Regions from separate parts of the Homo sapiens genome. Here regions 1, 2, 3, 4, 6 and 7 are each linked to region 5. Evidence: promoter capture Hi-C in 16 types of primary human blood cells and fetal thymus (Javierre and others, 2016). All regions are on one chromosome and are shown on one strand. The core of a region is centred on a gene start or on the middle of the fragment in contact, and the rest is flanking DNA. Distances in the headings are between cores, read along the strand shown. Region 1 overlaps CACNB2 (calcium voltage-gated channel auxiliary subunit beta 2). Region 2 overlaps CACNB2 (calcium voltage-gated channel auxiliary subunit beta 2). Region 3 overlaps CACNB2 (calcium voltage-gated channel auxiliary subunit beta 2). Region 4 overlaps CACNB2 (calcium voltage-gated channel auxiliary subunit beta 2). Region 5 holds the start of STAM (signal transducing adaptor molecule). Region 6 overlaps CACNB2 (calcium voltage-gated channel auxiliary subunit beta 2). Region 7 overlaps RSU1 (Ras suppressor protein 1).

Region 1 (2,933 bases), core at 49-2,548, 680 kb before region 5:
ATCTGTAAGAAGAGGTTAGTCGGATACTGCCTTAAATTTCTGTCTTCAGCAGAATACAGGGTATAAATGTGGTCATTGAAAACATGACTGGGGCTGGGCGTGGAGGCTCATGCCTCACCTGTAATCCCAGCACTTTGGGAGGCCGAGGTGGGCAGACTGTTTGAGGTCAGGAGTTTGAGACCAGCCTGGTTTCGTGGAGAAACTCCGTCTCTACTAAAAATACAAAAATTAGCTGGGCACGGTAGCATGCGCCTGTAATCCCACCTACTCAGGAGGCTGAGGCAGGAGACTCGCTTGAGTCCAGCAGGTGGAGGTTGCAGTGAGCCGAGATCACTCCACTGCCCTCCAGCCTAGGTGGCAGAGGGAGACTCCGTCTCAAAACAAATAAAAACAAACAAACAAACAAAAATGACCGGGCAACTTAGGATTTCCAGATGTGCATATTTCTACAAAAGAGCATTTAGGTATATCTGATATTTTTGGAGGCTGAAGAAATAAATAGAAATAAAATCATGTTATTTTTATTATGAAAATATAATGGATATACTTACAAAAAACATGTTCTTTATATAATTAATAGGTATGCTCTTTTGTGGTCACTTTTCTTGGACCCTCAAATCCACAGGTGCTCTGGAATAACATCAGAACATATTTCAAATCTTTAAGTCAAACAGAATGAAAACCAATCTGGAATGTTCTAGGATACCATTCTTTAATATCATGGAAATTTGACTTATCAGTCTTCAAGGAAGGGTGGCCTATGGGAATGCTTAAAAAAAAATCATTACTTTCACTAGGTGCAGTGACTCACGCCTGTAATCCCAGCACTTTGGGAGGTTGAGGTGGGCGGATCACTTGAGTCCAGGAGTTCAAGACCAGCAAGGGCAACATGGCAAAAAAACCCGTCTCTACCAAAAATACAAAAAATTGCTGGGCATGGTGGCACATGCCTGTAGTCCCAGCTACTCGGAGGGCTGAAGCGGGAGGATTGCTTGAGCCCAGAAGGTCAAGTCTGCAGTGAGCCCTGATCACACCACTGTACTCCAACTTGGGCAACAGAGTGAGACCCTGTCTCAAAAAAATTATTACTTTCTACTTTCTGAATTAACATGAAGGAGCATAAATAAAATTTTGAAGAGGTTCATGTGGTCAGAGGGGTAAACTGTCATATTCCAAAGAAAAGTGAAGATATCTTGAAGTAAAACTTCTTCCAAGTGAGCTGTGCTTATTAAGTACCAAATGGGATCCAATTTATTTGCAGTATTTAATCTAATGCAGTCAGAGGGCATAGCAGTTCTGACGAAGTCTGATGAAGGAGGAACTCTGTTTACTTCCACCCGCTCCTTCTCCCTGGATTAAAACACCACGAATTTTCTGCTCTTTGCTTTTCTTGAATAAGTTACCAAAAAAGAGCAGAACTAAGTCAACACCAAACTGCCCTTTGGATAAACAAGATGGAGCAGATTTATTTACCTTGGAACATGATTTTGAATTCAAGCCATGAAGTACACTGGAGGAATGCCTTACATCTACTAATTATTCATTTTGGAATTCCAATTTTGACTCAAGGTAATATTTGCATGTTTTATTTATTCCTAATCATTCAGTCCATTTTTTTCCTTTTTAAAACTGCTTTATTTTTTTCTGTTTCTGTACACTAACTCTGAATAACTGTAGTAGCTCATATCTTCTGTTAATGATTTATCTTGAAAATAGAAGACAACAGAGTCAGGTTAGCATAGGACTAACACCGTAGGAATCAACATGAAGAAAAAATAGGTTTCAGCTAGGCACAGTGGCTCATGCCTATAATCTCAGCAGCTTTGGGAGCCCAGGAGTTTGAGCCCAGGAGTTCAAGACCAGCCTGGGCAATATGGAGGAATTACATCTCTACAAAAAGTACAAAAATGAGCTGAGCATGGTGGTGTGCGCCTCTGGTCCCAGCTACTCAGGAGGCTGAGGTGAGAGGTTGGCTTGAGTCTGGGAGGTGGAGGCTGCAGTGAGCTGAGATTATGCCACTATACTCCAGGCTGTGTGATAGAGCCAGATGAAAGAAAGGAAAGGGAAGAAAGGGGAGGGGAAGGGGAAAGGGAAAGAGAGAGAAGGAAGGAAGGAAGGAAGGAAGGAAGGGAGGGAGGGAGGGAAAGAGAAAGAAAGAGAGAGAGAGAAGGAAAGAAAGGAAAAGAAGGAAAGAAAGAGAAAGGAAAGAAAGAAAAAAGACAGAGAAAGAGAGAAAGAAAAAGAAGGAAAGGAAAGAAAGAAAAGAAAAGGAAAAGAAAAGAAGGAAGAAAGAAAGAGAAAGAAAGACAGACAGACTAGGTTTCATCTGGGTGTGGTGGCTCAAGCCTGTAACACCAGCAACTTTGGGAGGCCAAGGCAGGAGGATTGCCTGAGACCAGGAGTTCAAGACCAGCCTTGGCAACGTAGCAAGACACTATCTCTACAAAAAATTTAAAAAAAAAATTAGCTGGGCATGGTGGTGCATGCCTGTAGTCCCAGCTACCTGAGAGGCTGAGGCACAAGGATCCCTTGAGCCCAGGAGGACAAGGTTATAGTGAGCTATGACTGAGCCACTGTACTCTAGCCTGGGAGACAAAGTGGGATCCTGTCCCTAAAAAGACAAAAACCAACTAGGTTTGAGGCAAATGACTTTGCTTTGTAGGTCAGTTTCTGCAACTAAAAAACGGGGATGCTCTGGACTAGCTCTGGCTACATGACTGGGGGACCCAGTTCACACTGAAAATGTGGTGTCCCTTGTTCCAAATTATGAAGGATCACAGCAGAATAATAGCAGAGCAGTAATCCAAGTGTGGAGCCCTTCTCAGCACAGGCGACATGCTCATGAAGCTAATACTAATAGCACATCTTTCATGGCGTAAGAGTGAGGAATAAGTAACATATGTAAAGTGCTAAGTATAGTGTCTGGCACATGT
Region 2 (2,888 bases), core at 57-2,556, 640 kb before region 5:
AAAACATATTTTGGAGTAAAATTTTATAAAGGATAGAACAACTAAAGGGGGCCACACAGCTAAACGTCACGTAAATATCAGTGCTATCAGCAGGGGCTTAAGCCACTGATAACTCTGTGCCATCCATCCATCCAGCATCTACAATTATAATAGCTACCATTTGCTGAAAATGTTCTCTGTGGTAAGTATTTTACATTTTTAAAAATCTTACTCAAAATGAAGACAACTTTGGCCGGGCGCGGTGGCTCATGCCTGTAATCCCAGCACTTTGAGAGGCTGAGACGGGCAGATCACGAGGTCAGGAGATTAAGACCATCCTGGCTAACTGGGTGAAACTCCATCTCTACTAAAAATACAAAAAATTAGCTGGGTGTGGTGTCAGGCACCTGTAGTCCCAGCTACTCGTGAGGCTGAGGCAGGAGAATGGCATGAACCCGGGAGGCGGAGCTTGCAGTGAGCCGAGATCACGCCACTGCACTCCAGCCTGGGCAACAGAGTGAGACCCCATCTCAAAAAAAAAAAAAAACAAAACAAAAAAACAAGAAAAAAAAATGAAGACAACTTCGTAAGATTGATTTTGAATGATTCTGGATTTTTTTGCTGGGGAGGGGGTCGGGGGTAGAGGCAGTATTAACCAGCATTTGATTTTAAAAAAGCAAAACTTGATATTACAACTAAAGTTGCAGATATGAAATTTTTAATCAGTTCAAAATCAGAAGAAAAATTAAAATAGACACAAAACTGGAGAAAAATTTTTTTACTTTACTTTTCTTTGTTTTGAGATGGAGTCTTGCTCTGTCGCCCAGGCTGGAGTGCAGTGATGCCATCTTGGCTCACTGTAATCTCTGCCTCCTGGGTTAAAGCAATTCTCCCACTTCAACCTCCTGAGTAGCTGGGAGGACAGGCATGTGCTGCCATGCCCGGCTGATTTTTGTATTTTTAGCAGAGACAGGGTTTCACCGTGTTGACCAGGCTGGTCTCGATCTCCTGACCTCAAGTGATCTGCCCACCTTGGCCCCCCAAAGTGCTGGGATTATAGGTGTGAGGCACCGCGCCTGGCAGAGAAAAGGATTTTTTAAATAAAAGAGTGCCTTGATTCTGCATCTACTGGGTATCTCTGTGTGTGTGTGTGTGTGTGTGTGTGTGTATAAATCTCATTTGCTGCATCTTGCTATAGTTGCCTAAAAACTATGTTTTTTCTCCTCAGGGAATACAGTACTCATGGTTGTTCAATAATTGTGGTTGACTAATTGGTTACAGTTCCATTAGGAAATTGAAAACAGTATTTTGAATATAATTTTCAGTTAAAATTTTCTGCAATACTACTCAAAGATGAATAAAGCAATTTGGAGCCTGATCTTTTGACTAAAATAGGAATGCAAGAGATTACTTATTTGTACTTTTCACATTTCAGAGTTCTTAAAACTCATAAAGGGATATCCAGCACAAACACAGTGTGTTAGAAGAGAGTTGTATGAAAGTAAGACTAGACCATGTAACTCTGGACAAATTTAATTCTAGAAATATTTAGTTTCAAAGTAAACCTGAATTTGTGTTCCTTTGAATTACAATGTTCTGATGTTGTTATGGGTTTGAGTTATGACCCCACAAAAAGCTGTGTTGAAATTCTAGGCCTTAGGACCTCAGAATGTGGCCTGATTTAGAAATTAAGGTCTTTACAGAGGTAATCAGGTTCAAATGAGGTCACTAGGGTGGGCCTTAATCCAATATGACTGGTGTCCTTATAAAAAGAGGAAAGTTGGACACAGAGACAGACCTGCACAGAGGGAAGATGATGTAAAGATACAGGAGAAGACAGCACGTGATTGGAGTGATACAGCTAGGAGCTGAGCATTGCCAGGACTGTCAGCAAACACCAGAAGCTGGAGTAGGCAAGGGAGAATCCTCCCCTACAATCATCAGCAATAGCACAGCCCCAGTAACACCTCTGTTTTTTTGTTTTGTTTTGTTTTTGAGATAGGGTCTCACTTTGTCACCCAGGCTGGAGTGCAGTGTCATGATCATAGCTCAGTGCAGCCTCAAATTCCTGGGCTCAAGCAATCCTCCCAACTCAGCCTCTTAAGTAGCTGAGACTACAGGGCGTGCCATCGTGCCCAGCCGATTTTTGTATTTTTTGTAGGAATGGGGTTTTGTTATGTTGCCTAGGCTGGTCTTAAACTCTTGGGCTCAGGTGATCTGTCCACCTTGGCCTCCCAAAGTGCTGGGATTACAGGCGTGAGCCACTGCGCCTGGCCCTGTTTTTGAATTTCCAGGCTTCAGAGCTGTGAGACAGTAAATTTCTGTTGTATTAAACCACACCATTTTTTGGTGCTTTTGTTACACCAGCCCTAGCTAATACAGATGTCAAATCACTAACACTCCCTTCTCCTTTTCCATGACTCTTTGGAGTATTCCAAGCTCCTTTCATTAATGTCACTGTAAAATGTTAAAGGGAAAAATGTCAGAATTTATATTTGTGACTTGATTTTTTTTTTGAGAAAGAGTCTCGCTGTGTCAAACAGGCTGGAGTGCAGTGGTGTGATCTCAGCTCACTGCAACCTCTGCCTCCCATATTTAAGTGATTCTCGTGCCTCAGCCTCCTGAGTAGCTGGGATTACAGCCACAAGCCACCATGCCTGGTTAATTTTTGTGTTTTTAGTAGAGACGGGGTTTCACTATGTTGGCTAGGCCGGTCTTGAACTCCTGACCTCTAGTGATCTACCCACCTCAGCCTCCCAAAGTGCTGGGATTACAGGCGTGAGGCACCACACCTGGCCTATGGCTTGATTTTTAAAGTATGCCTATATTAGTTTACATATTTGCCTTGAATTTTAACTTATTCATAGACTATCTGCACATTTCATTTATTAGGTCTCCTTAACTTGGAG
Region 3 (2,948 bases), core at 231-2,730, 570 kb before region 5:
GAAAGCCAGAGATAAGATGAATAACAGTTGGAAGCTATTGAAGTTGAGGGAATTATAAGTGTAAAAAATGACTAGAATATATAACAGTTGAATTTCCCCAAGTTTTTGTATTCTAAAGGAGGCCCCAATTGGCTGTTTAATCTACAAGTCATGTACAGAGCCAGATGGAAATTACTAATATGTTCCTCTGTGCAAGTCCACTTCTGGTGCTGGACAACTTGTCCCAGGGCTATAGGCATTAACAGGACTACAGTAAAAGGATTAGGAAAAGAATTCTCTAGAACTATATTTAAAAATTAACAATATTTAGTCTTTGGAGGCTGACTTTTCTCAGAAGGTCAAATGTCTTTGCCAGCAGCACATGGAAACTGAATTATCAGGTCATCTGGTTCTCTCCTATTTTTCATCACCAGCTCAAATCACTTCATTCCCCACCCTCAGAGAACAATGACTGCTGAGTCATTTAATATTTGAGGCAAAAAAAGGAACATGTTATAACCAGCAAATCTTTGAAATTCACTTGTGACAAGAATGGAAAAATACCATTCCGAATTCTGGAGGTAGAAGTATTTTTTGTGTCTTTGAGACAGGGTCTTGCTCTGTTGCCCAGGTTGGAATGCAATGGCATGATCATGGTTCACTGGAGCCTCGACCTCCCAGGCTCAAGCAATCCTCCTACTTCAGCCTCTGAAGCAGCCAGGACCACAGGTGCACACCATTACACCTGGCTAATTTTTAAATTTTTTTGTAGAGACAGGGTTTCTCCATGTTGCCCAGGCCGGTCTTAAACTCCTGGGCTCAAGAGATCCTTCTGCTTCAGCCTACCAAAGTGTTGGGATTACAGGCGTGAGCCACTGTGCTTGGCCAGAAGTACTTTTTTTTGAGATGGAGTCTCATTCTGTCACCCAGGCTGGGGTGCAGTGGTATGATCTTGGCTCACTGCAGCTTGTGCCTCCAGAGTTCAAGTGATCCTGCCTCAGCCTCCCAAGTAGCTGGGACTACAGGCACGTGCCACCATGCCTGGCTAAGTTTTTGTACTTTTAGTAGAGACGGGGTTTCACTGTGTTAGCCAGGATGGTCTCAATCTCCTGACCTCATGATCCACCCAAAAGTACTGGGGTTACAGGCATGAGCCACTGTGCCCTGCCCAGAAGTATTTTGAATAGCAGATAAATTTCAGACAGACACATAAGGTACCTACATGCACACACATGCACACACACAGCTAATTGAATGGCAGTGCTACACATACACATTCATACAGATCTCTGGGCCTCCATTTTCTTATCTACAGAATAAAAATGTTATAACCAAGAACATTTAATGTCTCTTGGGATCTAGATTGTGAACAATCTATACTCTTACTATGTCAAATAAATTGTATGGAATTCAGTGATGGCAATCAATAATCTGGAAAACAAATCAGTTCGTCTGTCTGACTTAATCAGTAGGTTGTTTAATTGAATTGATTTGTCAAAATATTATGCTGTCACTCCAGTAAGGACAAAAATACCTTCAGAATTCAGTAAGACCAATTCTCACAAACAATGTACATTTGTTAGAGACTAGTCCAACAAGAAATATTTCTATTAAATTGGTAATGACATGTTAGACTGAAGTGGTCTGCCTCAGGCCTTTGTGATCACAACAGCAGTGTGCACCATCTGTTAGAATTCAGTTCTCCCCCAAACCTTTAGAATGTCCTGCAAAATATAATACAGGGAATGAAGAGCATATCAGTCATGACCCAGTATTATACCGAAGACACAAGGGGCTCTTCCTAGTAGTGTGAAATTCTTACTGAGAAACTAAAGCATGCACCACCATCTCAACCAAGAAAAGGCTACCAAGGGTAACGCAGGGGCAAGCATTTCCTGGGGTGGAGACAGGGTCACAAGACATATTTTAGTGCATGAACTGGCCTGGTTCCCCTTCCCACCTCTCCTCCTTCCCTCTTTCTGCTCCAGCTACACTGGCCTTGGTATATCTGAACACACCAGTCACATGGTCTTTAGGCCTTCGCAATGGCTGTTCTCTCTGCTTGGAATGTTCTCCTAGATAAGCATGTGATTATTTTCTCACATCAAGTTTTGCTCAAATGTCACTCTGTCAGTGAGGACCATCTTGACCTCCCTGCTTAAGATGGAAATACACACTCTGACTTCCCTTATGCTCATCTCCATTTTCTTTTTTTCTATAACATTTATACAATTTTGCCATACTAAACAATTGACTTGTTTATTTTATTTTCCTTTCTTTATTTTGAGATGGAGTCTCACTCTGTCGCCCAGGCTGGAGTACAGCGGCACGATCTTGGCTCACTGCAACCTCTGCCTCCTGGATTCAAGTGATTCTCCTGCCTCAGCCTACCGAGTTACTGGGTCTATAGGCGCACACCACTCTGCCTGGTTAATTTTTGTATTTTCAGGAGAGATGGGGTTTTACCATGTTGGCCAGACTGGTCTCGAACTCCTGACCTCAGGTGATCCACCAGCCTCGGCCTCCCAAAGTGCTGGGATTACAGGTGTGAGCCAGCTTGCACAGCCGACTTATTTATAGTATTTGTTTATAGCTTTATCTACCAACCAAAATGGAAGCCCCATGTGGGAAGGGGATTTCCTGGGGTGCACACAGGGTCCCAAGAAATATTTGCTCACCAATGCATCTCATATGCCTGCCTAGAGCAGAGGTGAAGTAAATATTTATTCAATAAACGTATGAAAAGATAAATGAATAAAAAGGTTCTATTTATATCCTAGAAAGGATCTCTGGGTTATTGCTAGAAAATAGTTCAACTTGACCCAAATAAATGAACTGGTTAAATAAGATACTTATAGCACTTCCATTCTGACCTGGTCTCACATGTAGGTTGTCATTGGTCCTATGACCTGGGCAGAAATGTATAACTCAATGTATTTATTTATGCTTGCTTTTAAGGAATTTTTCAT
Region 4 (3,069 bases), core at 567-3,066, 660 kb before region 5:
TGCAACAAGGCTGATGGGAACCATTATGGAATCTACTCAAAATCTTTTGTCATTAACCACAGGAAACCCTTTACATATTTATCTATGTGTTCCGCTACCCTCTAATTCTTAATTCTTTCAAACCCTAGACCTCTGTATTTGTCCTATCTTCTACTTTCTCCAGAAATTTGTTCTGTGTCTACAAATATACCTACACGTTCCCTCAACTCACTTCTCCTCAAGTGATTGTGGCCATACTTCCTCCTTCTAGAAGGAGGCTATATTTGCTTGTTTCTACTTTCATCACCCACACGCTCCTTATAACTCACTGCATCTGTGCCTGACTTCCACCATCCTCTTGAAACTCCTCTCCCAAGATCACAATTAAATGCCTGCTTGCTGAATTCTGTTTTGGCCCCCTGGCTGTCTCTTCTCTTCCTCCTGAAATGTTCTGCACCCTTACTTATCAAAGTGTGAAGCAGGACCCTGTTTCTTGTCTGACCTCCTTGACAACTTATCACTTTACTTTTCCTTTTTTTAGAGATGGGGTCTCGGTCTGCTGTCCAGGCTGGAGTACAGTGGCACAATCATAGCTCACTGCAGCCTCCAACTCCTGGGCTCAAGCGATCCTCCCACCTCGGCCTCCCAACACTTATCATTTTTATATGCAGCCTCTTAACACGTGAGAATTCCTCAGTTACCCTTCTTCTCCCCCTATACCTGGGGTCACAAATGTCAACCATGAGCATAACCTGGCTTCCAGATGGGTTCTGTTTGACCTACAGAGTGAGGTTGTTAATTTTTACTGAAGCCAACACTTACAAATTAGGAGGTGTTACTTAAAATTGGGACTTCCAGTTTGTCTTGAAAACTAACTCACACCAGCTATGGAATAAGGATAGAAGAAAGTAGAATGTGAAATTGATATAAATGGCTATTACATGGCAAAGTAATAATGAAAGACTGTCTTCTTTCATGACTTAGGAATCAAAAGATACGTTCATTGCAGATTTCGAGGATTTGTGCTGAGATATTATTGAGTTAATTTTCTCTGTATTCTGTTCTCATTTTTGTCATACTTAGCCAAATCTCCACTTCAACAGCCCCAGTTACATGTTTTACCTTATATTATTCTCCAATCTTATTTCAAAAAGGATCTGCTTCAGGGTCCTTCAGTTTACTTTTCCTCTGAATATTGAACTTAACCAATAAAAGCTGCCTTATGAAACAAGTGACATAATAAAACAATAGATAATGTAAGCTTTAAATTCCAAATTCTGTCTCAGCCTCATAGCATTTACTGTCCATGAAGTAGACGACATTTATTTCCTGTAACCCAAAGGCTTTCCTTGTTCTTAATTTTTAAAGTGATGAAGTTCCCACAGGGGAGAATATAAGAAAGGGAATGAGATAAAGGTGGAAACATGGAAGAATTGGAATAAGAAAAATCATTTTCATTCATTCTTCTTTTTACTTCCTTGTATAAGACACAAAAATATATGTTTGGCAGTAATGAGTCCTAAACTTCTATTTCTCAAAGTTGACATTTCAATTTCCATTACATCTTATTCCAAGAATAATGCACACATCTTTCTGCAGAGGAAATAAAAAGTGGGATTGAAATGTACAGCATGACCTGTGAGGAAAGGGACCGCCCCTGTTTTAATTAAGGAAGAGCAGAGAGAGAGATTTCTTCATGCTTATTTAATTATGTTGAAATGTTATCCCACAAACCGTAAGTTTTAAACTCCTAATAGCATCGAGCTAACATTCTTGCAAGATTTACTTATGTTTTGGAAATAGAGCTTTATACAGAATACAGAGAGGATGATCGCCTGTGCAGCGGCAGGCAAAGTCAAGGTTGTGTTCGCTGCCTTTGGTTCCTTGCCTTGGTGTTTCCCTAGCCCACGAAGCCTGGTTGCCAGGCAACCAGGGCAGCTTTGCTGAATATAGATATTAACAGGTTTAGGTTACATTGGGAAAAAAAAATGGAGTGAAAAAGAGCACAGGCTTATCCTTCACCTGGAAATTTGGGGAAACAAACAATGTTTTCAATGCAATATTTGAAACAAAATGTATTTAATACCTTTCTTAAATGTGCTGAATACTTTTTTTAAGCTCCACAACTCTTAGGTGGTATAAACATAGTTCATTTCCTCATTTGAGATAATATACTTGCCCATTGTGTATTGAGAAATAAACTTGTCCACTGCCACCATGACTTGCAATTCTACGTATGAAAACACTGATTAGGCCGGGTGAAGTGGCTCACACCTATAATCCTAGCACTTTGGGAGGCTGAGTCAGGAGGCTCGCTTGAACCCAAGAGTTTGAGACCAGCCTGGGCAACATAATGCAACCCTATCTCTACAAAAGATTAAAACATTAGAAGGATGTGGGGGTGCAAGCTTGTAGTTCTAGCTACTCAGGAGGGTGAGGTAGGAGGATCGATGGAGCCTGGAAGTTTGAGGCTGCAGCGAGCTGTGACTGTGCTACTGCACTCCAGCCTGGATGACAGAGCAAGACTCTGTCTCAACAAGCAATACTAATAAAAAATAAAAACACTGGCGGTTTTTCTAGATCTTGAATAAATTTTAATCTCATATAATGTTGCATAATGTCAAAACTCTTACACAGACATCATTTTCTTTGCAATTCATTGTCTGAGGTGGGTAGGACAGGTTTAACGCTCCCCCACTGAACGGACTGGAAAACAGACTTCATGAAGATAAGTAACTAGTGCCACAACTAGTCAAGGGCAGCGCTGGACACGCACCCCCAAGGACAGCCTGCCTTAACAGGTGTTGCCTCTCAGTATTTTTTCCAGGATAACTGAAAAAGTAGCAGAAAATGAAAACCTTCATATGGGTTGCCTTCATACGGGTTGCACAGCTTCTAAGAATTCAGTACTGGCTCTTATGAAGAGAAGTAAGTGACATCTGAGACACGTGGCCCTGGATTGTGTTTCTTTTTTCTCCCTTTTTTTTAATTTTCTTTTGGTTTGAGATGGGGCCTTGCTCTATCACGCAGGCTGGATTGCAGTGGCGTGATCATGGCTCACTGCAGCCTTCCCAACCTGGGCTCAAGCGA
Region 5 (3,200 bases), core at 17-2,516:
CCAAGTTTCAGTGACATGCTCTAAGGAAGAGTTTAAAAAGAAAAATTCAACATCCACCTTTCATAATTAAAATACACAAAGACAAGTAAATTCATAAGGTTGTCCTTATTCACAGTAATGATTACATTCTGCCATAAGGGATTTGGAAATGGTATTTGGCTTGCTTTCATTCCACACTTGTGTGCCAAGGTAGTTCCTACGTGCGTTCAAATTAAACCAAAATTCTCTCCCCGGAAACTCAAATTCCCATAATTATTATCTTCAAGTCAGAAAAAAATAAAATAAAATAAAATTAAAAACCAAAAGCAAACCTATTGAATTGACATCATCAGTACCTAATACCAGTGATTCAGAAAACAACAAAAATGTAGCATTTCAAACTCTTTCCAGATTCAACAACTTCTTCCACACTTCTTTACACCTTTTAAAGTGCAGAGACCTAGCCTAAGAGAGACATCCCAAAGGCTCAGGTCCTCAATTCGGTTTCAGTCGTTGCCAAGTATTTCATCTTCATCGCTCCTAACATGTTTGAGAGTCTACCCTTAACCAGAGCTCCCTCCTTCAGTTACCGTTACAAAAGATTTTAAAATCCTCTAAGGAACCTTACCTAAAACATTCTGCCAGTTCCAGACGCTCAACATTTATTTGTCTAGGCAAGCACTTTTGGTACAGGGTTTACAATCCTAATCTAGCCAACATACGCCTTAAGCCCTTCGCTGTTCTTCCAGAAGCACAGTCCCTGCACCAGATGCTACACCAGCTGCTCCTCCCAGGCCCTTTACACCAACCCATTCAGCAGTTCTTTGGCAACCTACAGTCCTAGCTCAAGGCCCATTTCACAGGATGAGTCCCATTTCTTTCAAAGAGGATGCGCCAAGCCCTCAACCTCCTCCCAGCTCTGAAGGAGGGAGCCTCAGGAAAGGGGAAGAGCGAGCTCTTCCTTGGCCCTGGCCCGAGGGTCCTGAATGCAGGCAGGGGCTGGCAGAGTGAGCGTGCAGTCCGGTGAGGAATGGGCAGGGAGAGGCAAAAACACTTACCAACATCCTGATCGAAGGGATTGGTGGCAAAAAGAGGCATCTCCGCTGCGTGCCGAGGTGTCCCCGGGGACTCCCTCTCGACAGCACGGGAGTCAGAGCTCGACGTAGGATGGAAGACTCCTCAGGCAAAAAGAGCAACAGAGACCGACTCTACAGGGTCCGCGACAGCTCCTCCTCTCACCCAACCCCACCAACCGCGGCAGCAGCTGCGGCGGCGGCAACAGCAAGGAGCCGAGGAAGCCCCCGCGCGGAGCTTGTCGGGAATCTGGGCGACCTTGGCGCTGCCTGTCTCAAAGCTGCCCCGAGCCTGCCCCATCGGTAAAGGCTGAACAGGGAGTCCCCTCTGCCTGACTCCTCTTTTAATTAGTCACACATAAGAGTGGAATTAGTTCTTGTGTTTTCTGCTTTTCCCTTGGCTAGGAGTCTCCGTAGGACGGGGTCCTTCAGGCGTGCTGAAGCCTACTAACAACCCCAGGAGTGACTGGGAGAGCCAGGAGAAAGAAAGCAGGTTGAGTTCGGGTCGAGCTGTGCGCCTTTTTTCCTCTCGCTCTCTCGGTTATCATAACCTTGTATTCCCTCTGGAAGGAAATGGAAATTCCTTTGGATCATCTTCTAGGTAAACAGTTTAATTAGCTGCGTGAGGTGACAAACTTGCTCGGATGAAGTCATGGGAGCTGAACGAATTGGCCTGAATCCCAAGAGGGGAGTGTTCAGGGCGCGCGTGTCCCTCGGAGAGGCTGAGGTAACGCTGGCTCCTTCCCGGGAGTCCCTGAACGCCCGGCTTTGGAATCTGCAGACAGCTCTTCTAGCAGGGCGTTGGCACCTACTGACTAACCGTGCAATCACTCAGCAGCTGTGATGGTTGGTGACATGTCTTTCACAGCCCAAGATAGCCTCCCTAGACTGAGCAAAAAAAAGAAAACAGAAAAAAACTGGAGCTAAAAGTTGATCAGTGAGTGATTCCTAGCAACCCAAAATGTTGGTTTATTTATTTTACTTATAAGTTTAGTTAACCAATAAAAATTATTCTCTGTGTGATGGAGAAGTTTTAAGGAGCATCTACTAGAGATGTTGCGTCCCACTTGGAACAAACTTAGTAAGCACATCTTGTACGTAAATGGAAATTATCCCGCAAATTACGGCATCTCCAAATGTAGCGTGGAAACTAATATTGACATGTCAACACAGGATTAATACATAGTAATCAAAGAGTGCTTAAAAATTCATTAAAAATGAAGTCCCACCTCTAAAAGTGAAATGTGCAAATTAAAGTAGCAGTTAGATAATGTTTTGTCATTTAGGTAAAAATTACAAAGAATCGGCCGGGCGCGGTGGCTCACGCCTGTAATCCCAGCACTCTGGGAGGCCGAGGCCGGCAGATCACCTGAGGTCAGGAGTTCAAGACCAGCCTGGCCATGGTGAAACCCCGTCTCTACTAAAAGTACAAAAAATTAGCCGGGCGTGGTGGTGCGCGCTTGTAATCCCAGCTATTCGGGAGGCTGAGGCTGGGAATCGTTTGAACCCGGGAGCGAAACTCCGTCTCAAAAAAAGAAAAAAATTGCAAAGAATCAGGGATGTGAGGAGTCAGACACTCACATACTGTTGGATGAAGTGTAAATACTGTATAATCTTCCTAAGGGAAATATTTGGAAGCATGTAAAAAAATTTTTAAAACCTTAGGACCCAGCAATTCCATTTCGGCAAATTAATCCTAAAGACATTCTTTTAAAACATGAACAAAGGTATACATGGCAACATTGTCTAAAGGATCAAAGCATTGCCAGCCATTAAATGTCCCACATTGAGTGATTGGACAAATTGCTTCACCTCTTGGTGTCTCAGTTTCCTCATGTGTAAGAAACAGGAATAATAGGGTTGTGAGGATCAAATGAATTAGTACAAGCAAAACGCTTATTACAGTGCCTGGCATAGAGTAAGCACTAAATAAGTGTAACTGATCACTGTAATTTACACTGGTCAGTTAAATCATAGTACATAAGATGTGAAAACTACACAGCCATTTAAGGTGCATAATACAGATTCATATTTACATAGACATCTGAATACACAAGTTTTCAGAAGGAAGTTACAAACCTTATAAAATTACAAATGCCCACAATTTTAAAAATCTGAAAGGAAATACATGAGAATATTATGACATGA
Region 6 (3,048 bases), core at 496-2,995, 630 kb before region 5:
GAGAGCCGATCAAGTAGCCCTCCCCTCTCCTGACCTGGGGAGATCAAGCCAGGTCACTCTGATCCCCTCTCCTAGGAACTTGAACCTTGAGACACTTGACACCAGTTGACTTGAGGTGAGCTGACTCACCTCAAAAGATAGACTCCAAGGAGCCCAGCCACAGTTCCCAATACTGAAATTCTCAGAGCAGCCCTGATCCAACCTTCAGCTTTCCTTCCATAGCTCTGCTGTTGGCCAGTAGCCCTCAAAAAATAGTGATGCACAATGAAGTCACATTGAGAGATTATTAAACATTAAATTATCAGGATCCATCCCTGAGATTCAGAGTCTATGAGTCTAAGATGGTTCCCAGAGATCTGCATTTTTTTGGGGACCAACATCCCTGGGAATCCTAACGCTAGTGACCCAAAGTACACACTAAGAAGCTGTATTAGTCCATTCTAATGCTGCTAAAAAAGACATACCTGAAACTGGGTAATTTATAAAAGAAAGAGGTTTAATGGACTTACAGTTCTTCATGGCTGCGGAGGCCTCACAATCAACGGCCGAAGGCAAAGGAAGAGCAAAGGGACATCTTACATGGCGGCGGATAAGAGGGCTTGTGCAGGGGAACTCCCCTTTATAAAACCATCAGATATTGTAAGACTTGTTCACTATCATGAGAACAGCATGAGAAAAATCTGCCCCCATGATTCAATTACCTCTCACCGGGTCCTTCCCATGACTCGTGGGGATTATTACACTTCAAGGTGAGATTTGGGTGGGAACACAGAGCCAAACCATATCAGCAGCATTGCTACAAACCTCCAATAAATTCTATCTTTTAAATTAGAAAGAGGTGATTTCTAGTATGTACCACCGAATTATATTATCCACCCTCTCTGAAGTTTTTTGGAGGGTAATTATGAATATAGAGGCATAGAACCTTGGGGGAGAGGAAGGGAGAGATCCCACATCTTCCAAGTAGATTCTTTTAGCTCACCATTCCTTGACATCTTGCCCTGTCTCCCTTAACTACGAGCCTTGAAAGTCATTAAGAAGCCTTTGTTCTAATTAGAACTATGTCCCACTCCTCTCTGTAGAAAAAAGATTGTGATCCACTCTTTCGAATAGCTATCACATTGTTTCATAATATCATATCTGCTCCAAAGAAAAAACTGATTCACCCAATAATGAAACTACCATAGAGAAGTCAATGGGACACTCTGGGGAAGCTTCACAGACTCACTGGAAATATTACTCCCTCCAGAAAAAAAAAGAAAAAAGAAAGGAAGAAAGAAAAAAATGGTAAGAGATGGAAATTACAACAGAACCCTTGTCCCTTACTCTCTTTATTCAGGTTTATTGTTTGGAAATCAGGGTAGGTTACATAAATTATTTATTCCTTTGGTGGTATGGAGGAGAATGGTGACCTGCTCATCACAAAAGTGCAAGGAAGAAAAAAACCCCAATAAACAAAAAATAAAGCTACTTCTGATGATTCAAACAGAAGAGAATTGGCTGTTATCTCAATGTAATACCAAGGAAGAGAACACACACAGGAGTCTGGCTCAATGGGAAACAGATCTATTCAGCAGAAAGGTTAGCGGGCAATGAAAGCCTCTAAACCAACAACACAAAAGGCTGCTTCAGAGAACGGCTACCTGCCTGTGCTGCCACCGGGAGAAGGAAGGAGGAAGGACACATCTCCTAAAATAGGAGCTGCTTGTTTTATATATGATAAAGATGTTAGGGAAGGTTTCCATACATATAGCCATTAAAGCCCTTAACTCAAGGCTTTAAATAATCTGGTGGTGTTTTTATTTTTAAATGGCTGTGCTTGAAGATAGGTTTTTGTTTTTAAATATGTTTTTGTTTTTAAACATATTTACCTACTTTTGTAACTGCTGTTTTAAAACAAAGTTAGTTTGTGGCTTTTAGTCAATTTCGTGCTTTCAATCAGAACTTAGATCTCCTCTGCACTTCAGTAGGTCCTTGTTATGGGTAAATAAGCTGCTTCTTGCTTTATATTCTTAAAAGAAATACAAGGAATATCATCTAAATCGGGAAAAGAGGCCAAAAGAGGAAATGATTACATAGTTGCAAACTGTAGCAACCAAATTTCTCTTCTACTTTATGCATATCAACCAAATTTCTCTTCTACTTTCTGCATATTGATGAGACCAAGGAACACTTATACCATCACAAAGCTCTGTGTATGTGTGTTTATACACACAAGTATACAGTAAATTTCACATATATCACATAAATCAATGAAGTATCTAGGGGAAGCTTCATAGACTGACTGAGAGCATTACCCCCATCCCCCAAAACGACATATTATAATGACAAGTAGGAATAAAGAGGTAGTAGTGAAAGAGTAAAAATTTGATATTTCCCCAGCATTATGTATATATGTATTCAACCATTACGTCTTGAGTGTCTGTCAGAGGCCAGGCATTCTTGCTGGGCAACAGAGATACAACAATCAAAAAGGGAATGAAAGAAACTTAAGTTCTAAGATGGGCAGACAACTAGAGGGATAATTAGGATAAGGTAGGGTAAGTGTTATGATAGGGGAAAAGCAAGGATACCTAACCGAGACCAGGGAACAGCCTCTGTGGAGGAGCACAGGCAAATAAAAGAGTGTTGATTGTTAGGAAACTGTATGAAATTCAATGCCACTGGGGGACTCCAGAGGATGAAGGTGCTGAGAATTAAGGCTAAGGAGACAAGCAGTGGCTTGATCAAGAAGTGTCTCATAGCAACATTGCTCAGATTGCACTCATATTCTCAGAAAATGGGAACCAACTGGGGGCTTTAAGCAGAGAAATACCATGATTGCTCTTGAAAAAAAATCACAATGGCAGTTCCAATGTGGAGAATGGATTGTTGAAGGATGAAGACTAAGATGGGGTGACCAGTTAGGAGGCTGCTGATAGAGTTTGGCTTTGTCCCCACCCAAATCTCATGTGGAATTGTAATCCCCATAATCCCCCCTTGTCGAGGGAGGGACCCAGTGGGAGGTGACTGGTTAATGGGTGCAGTTTCTTCCACATTGTTTTTATG
Region 7 (2,970 bases), core at 65-2,564, 850 kb after region 5:
GCCAGGATAAGGGATGACATGTGGGGAGAGAATCAAAATCCAAGGTTAAAAATAATGGTTGAGCTGCCTACGAGACCAAATCATGTTTTGCCTTCGGGTAAGAGCAGGTGGCACACCATGGTCTTCTAATATTTAGTGACTGTTGAGGGACTTAGAACTCTTAGAGCTCCAAGAGTCATGTGGCTTTTGTACAGACAGCAGGTTTAGGATTCCAGCTCCTCCTGCTTGAAAAGAAGGTTTACTTTTCCCAGGGAAATGTGGGGCCAGGTTCAGGTGAGAAGTATGGGGGAAGGTTGAGGCGGACGCAGAGAGCTGCTGCTCAAGCGGAGAATGGAGAGTGATAGAGAAACGTCTGACATCAGCCCCTGGGAAGAGGGTGCCGGTGCCTCACCTGGGCGGCTTGTTTAGGGGTCCGGGGGGTTGAAGATACACCCAATTTTCTGAAATGCAAAGTGTGCACAGTTAATACTGCTCATGTCTTAACTTTGGCAAAAAAACAACCTGTGTACTTAAACTCCTTGTCTTTTGAACATCATAAAATGCCATGCAGTTGGCAAATTGTGGATGCAACCGGTGGCATATTTGTTTAGCCAGTAAGACAGTATCAGAATTAATCAGCTTCTTGTTTGGAAACAGCTTTTAGGGGGTTCTCTCTGCTTACTAGTTCTGAAATCACAGACAAGTTACATAACCTCTTGTGTCTCATTTTTCTCATCTAAAATTGAGAGGGAAGAAGAGACTACTATTGCCTTGTAGGGTTATCGTGAGAAATAGGTGAATTGATAAAGTTCTTAGAACTGTGCCAGTCATGTTTTAAGCATTTGGTAAGCATTAGCTATTGTTGTTTGTTATTACCTTATTTTTTTTTAATTTTTTTTTTTTTTTTTTTTTGAGATGGAGTCTCACTCTGTCGCCCAGGCTTGGGTGCAGTGGCGCGATCTCGGCTCACTGCAACCACTGCTTCCTGGGTTCAAGCAATTCTCCTGCCTCAGCCTCCCCAGTAGCTGGGATTACAGGCACCCACCATCACACTTGGCTAATTTTTGTATTTTTAGTAGAGATGGGGCTTCACCATGTTGGCCAGGCTGGTCTCGAACTCCTGACCTCAGGTGATCTGCCTGCCCCGGCCTCCCGAAGTGCTGGAAATACAGGCATGAGCCACCACGCCGGGACTGTTCTAACATTTTTGATTCTAGTGAACACATATGTAAAGTGCTCAGCACAACACAGTGATGTAGTGGTCATTACATAAATAATCTTTTTTCTCTCTTTTATTTGTTTCATTTTAAAGATGAGGAATTTGTGCTCCAGAACAATCCAGTGATTTTTCTCAGGATCTCATGGGATGACAGGGCAGGTCTCACCTGCTAGGAACTGTGCGTTCTTTGCTTTGCTTTTGTGTCTTATTTTATTCTAGATAGGAAGGAATTTTCCATTCAGGTTTATATTATTTTTATTATGGTTGGAATTGCTGTCATAAAGGACATTCCATCCAGGTGTCAATAATAATTTTCCAGTTTGCAAAGAAGAAGCTCAAGATTTAGAATCTGGAAACCTTGATTGTACTCTGTTCTGATTCTGCTGGCCCGTGGAATCTTAGAATACCTTTACTTCTCTGGCCCACTGTTTTCTTATCTGTAAATTGAGGAGCTTAAGTTGTTTGATTTCTAGAGTTCCTTTGGCTCCAACATTCTATAACCATGATTTCTAAAACTGCATAAGTTTTGTGTTACACAAATAAAATAGTTTATGCTAGAAAAATTAGTCAATACAAACAAGCTAAAAAGAAAAAAGAAGAGACAGAGGAGGAAGGTAGTTAGAAATAAAACAAAATGGACTCTGGTCCTTGAAGGTTTTATTAACCCTAAAAAAATTTTCAGGCACTTCCCTTTTAATGGGAGTTTCAAAGCACCTTAGTACTTTTATGGTACAAGTCTGCCTGTCAGAGTTCTCCAGAGAAACAGAATCCATAGGCAATATATATATGGAGATTTATTATGGAAATTGGCCCAGGTGATTATGGAGGCTAAGAAGTCACATGATGTGCTGTCTGCAAGCTGGAGAACCTGGACAGTTGGTAATGTAATTTAGTGCAAGGCCAAAGGCTGGAGAGTCATAGGAGGGGTGCGTGTCAGTGATGCAAGTCCCAGAATCTGAAGGCCCAGGAACCAGGAACTCTGATGTCTGAGGGCAGGAGAAGATGGATCTTCATGAATTCTCCCTTCCTCTGCCTTCTTATTCTATTGAGGCGCTCAATGAATTGGTTATTGCTCACCTGCATTGGCAAGGGTAGGTCTTCTTTACTCAGTCCCCTGATTCAAATGCTAATCTCTTCTGGAAACACCCTCACAGACCCTGGAAAAGAACATTTTACCAGCTATCTGGGTATCTCGTAGCCCAGTCAAGTTGACAAATAACATTCACCATCACTTTCTGTATTGTATCCTAGTGTTTTATTTCATCTCCTTATTGCAGAGGAAGCTCATTGAGGGCAGCAGCTGCATCTCACTCATATTCTATCCCTGTCCCACCAAAGAAGTACAGTGGCTTGCAGAGTAGCTGTAGCTCACCAAGTTTTGTTAATACCATCCAGTGACTGCATATCTTAGGTGGCTTACTATATTTTTCTCTTTAATTCTCTCAGGCATCTTCAGAAATAGTTTTTCTGTGTATTTTTTCCTGGAGCAAAAACTGTGTGTTTGGACAAGAATGATGTGGGCTCCATAATTTAAATACCAGTGTCTTGGGTCTGTCTGTCTTCTTTCTCCTTAATGTCCTGATGGACTCATAGACTCCAATTAGTGACCAGCTCATGGGGGGTTCTCAAGATAGGTGAATTTGCTGCTATTATGTGTAGAAACAGGGGCCATCTTTTTTTTTCAGTTGTCATTTATGTTCAATTGTTTTGTCATTGATTGAGAGAGGACTTAATTGTGATTGATAGACCCTTTATCTATAAATAGTAGAATT

The links. Contacts are between HindIII fragments. The CHiCAGO score rates a contact against its expected background, and 5 or more counts as called.
Region 1: a fragment that was not itself captured here is called in contact with the fragment with the promoter of STAM in region 5 in 1 of 17 cell types (monocytes); the score reaches 5.2 in monocytes.
Region 2: a contact is called between a fragment that was not itself captured here and the fragment with the promoter of STAM in region 5, in 1 of 17 cell types (monocytes). The highest score is 6.1, in monocytes.
Region 3: a fragment that was not itself captured here is called in contact with the fragment with the promoter of STAM in region 5 in 4 of 17 cell types (fetal thymus, M1 macrophages, M0 macrophages and 1 more); the score reaches 10.4 in fetal thymus.
Region 4: a fragment that was not itself captured here is called in contact with the fragment with the promoter of STAM in region 5 in 1 of 17 cell types (monocytes); the score reaches 11.1 in monocytes.
Region 6: a fragment that was not itself captured here is called in contact with the fragment with the promoter of STAM in region 5 in 1 of 17 cell types (monocytes); the score reaches 6.5 in monocytes.
Region 7: a fragment that was not itself captured here is called in contact with the fragment with the promoter of STAM in region 5 in 5 of 17 cell types (neutrophils, naive CD8 T cells, naive CD4 T cells and 2 more); the score reaches 8.4 in neutrophils.

Annotation. Positions count from the first base shown.
Region 1 is chr10:18,324,887-18,327,819 of GRCh38, reverse strand. The region is part of intron 2 of CACNB2 (calcium voltage-gated channel auxiliary subunit beta 2); the gene reads right to left. Among named protein-coding and RNA genes, the nearest start is that of CACNB2-AS2, 65 kb to the right of the region's middle. The HindIII fragment of the contact is 4,487 bases long and covers 1-2,933 here.
Region 2 is chr10:18,286,936-18,289,823 of GRCh38, reverse strand. The region is part of intron 2 of CACNB2 (calcium voltage-gated channel auxiliary subunit beta 2); the gene reads right to left. Among named protein-coding and RNA genes, the nearest start is that of CACNB2-AS2, 27 kb to the right of the region's middle. The HindIII fragment of the contact is 5,609 bases long and covers 1-2,888 here.
Region 3 is chr10:18,216,800-18,219,747 of GRCh38, reverse strand. The region is part of intron 2 of CACNB2 (calcium voltage-gated channel auxiliary subunit beta 2); the gene reads right to left. Among named protein-coding and RNA genes, the nearest start is that of CACNB2-AS2, 43 kb to the left of the region's middle. The HindIII fragment of the contact is 3,237 bases long and covers 1-2,948 here.
Region 4 is chr10:18,303,418-18,306,486 of GRCh38, reverse strand. All of the region lies in intron 2 of CACNB2 (calcium voltage-gated channel auxiliary subunit beta 2), which reads right to left. Among named protein-coding and RNA genes, the nearest start is that of CACNB2-AS2, 43 kb to the right of the region's middle. The HindIII fragment of the contact is 1,147 bases long and covers 1,243-2,389 here.
Region 5 is chr10:17,642,217-17,645,416 of GRCh38, reverse strand. It overlaps STAM (signal transducing adaptor molecule), which reads right to left and starts at 1,266. Exons shown (of 14, transcript NM_003473.4): 1 at 1,038-1,266. The coding sequence starts at 1,077. STAM-DT (STAM divergent transcript) reads left to right here and starts at 1,499. Exons shown (of 1, transcript NR_110370.1): 1 at 1,499-3,200. RefSeq lists enhancers at 1,252-1,371, 1,522-1,591, 1,014-1,663, 1,664-2,312. The HindIII fragment of the contact is 8,791 bases long and covers 1-3,200 here.
Region 6 is chr10:18,270,247-18,273,294 of GRCh38, reverse strand. The region is part of intron 2 of CACNB2 (calcium voltage-gated channel auxiliary subunit beta 2); the gene reads right to left. Among named protein-coding and RNA genes, the nearest start is that of CACNB2-AS2, 10 kb to the right of the region's middle. The HindIII fragment of the contact is 1,057 bases long and covers 1,217-2,273 here.
Region 7 is chr10:16,793,275-16,796,244 of GRCh38, reverse strand. The region is part of intron 2 of RSU1 (Ras suppressor protein 1); the gene reads left to right. Among named protein-coding and RNA genes, the nearest start is that of RSU1, 23 kb to the left of the region's middle. RefSeq lists enhancers at 289-348, 559-778. The HindIII fragment of the contact is 3,505 bases long and covers 1-2,970 here.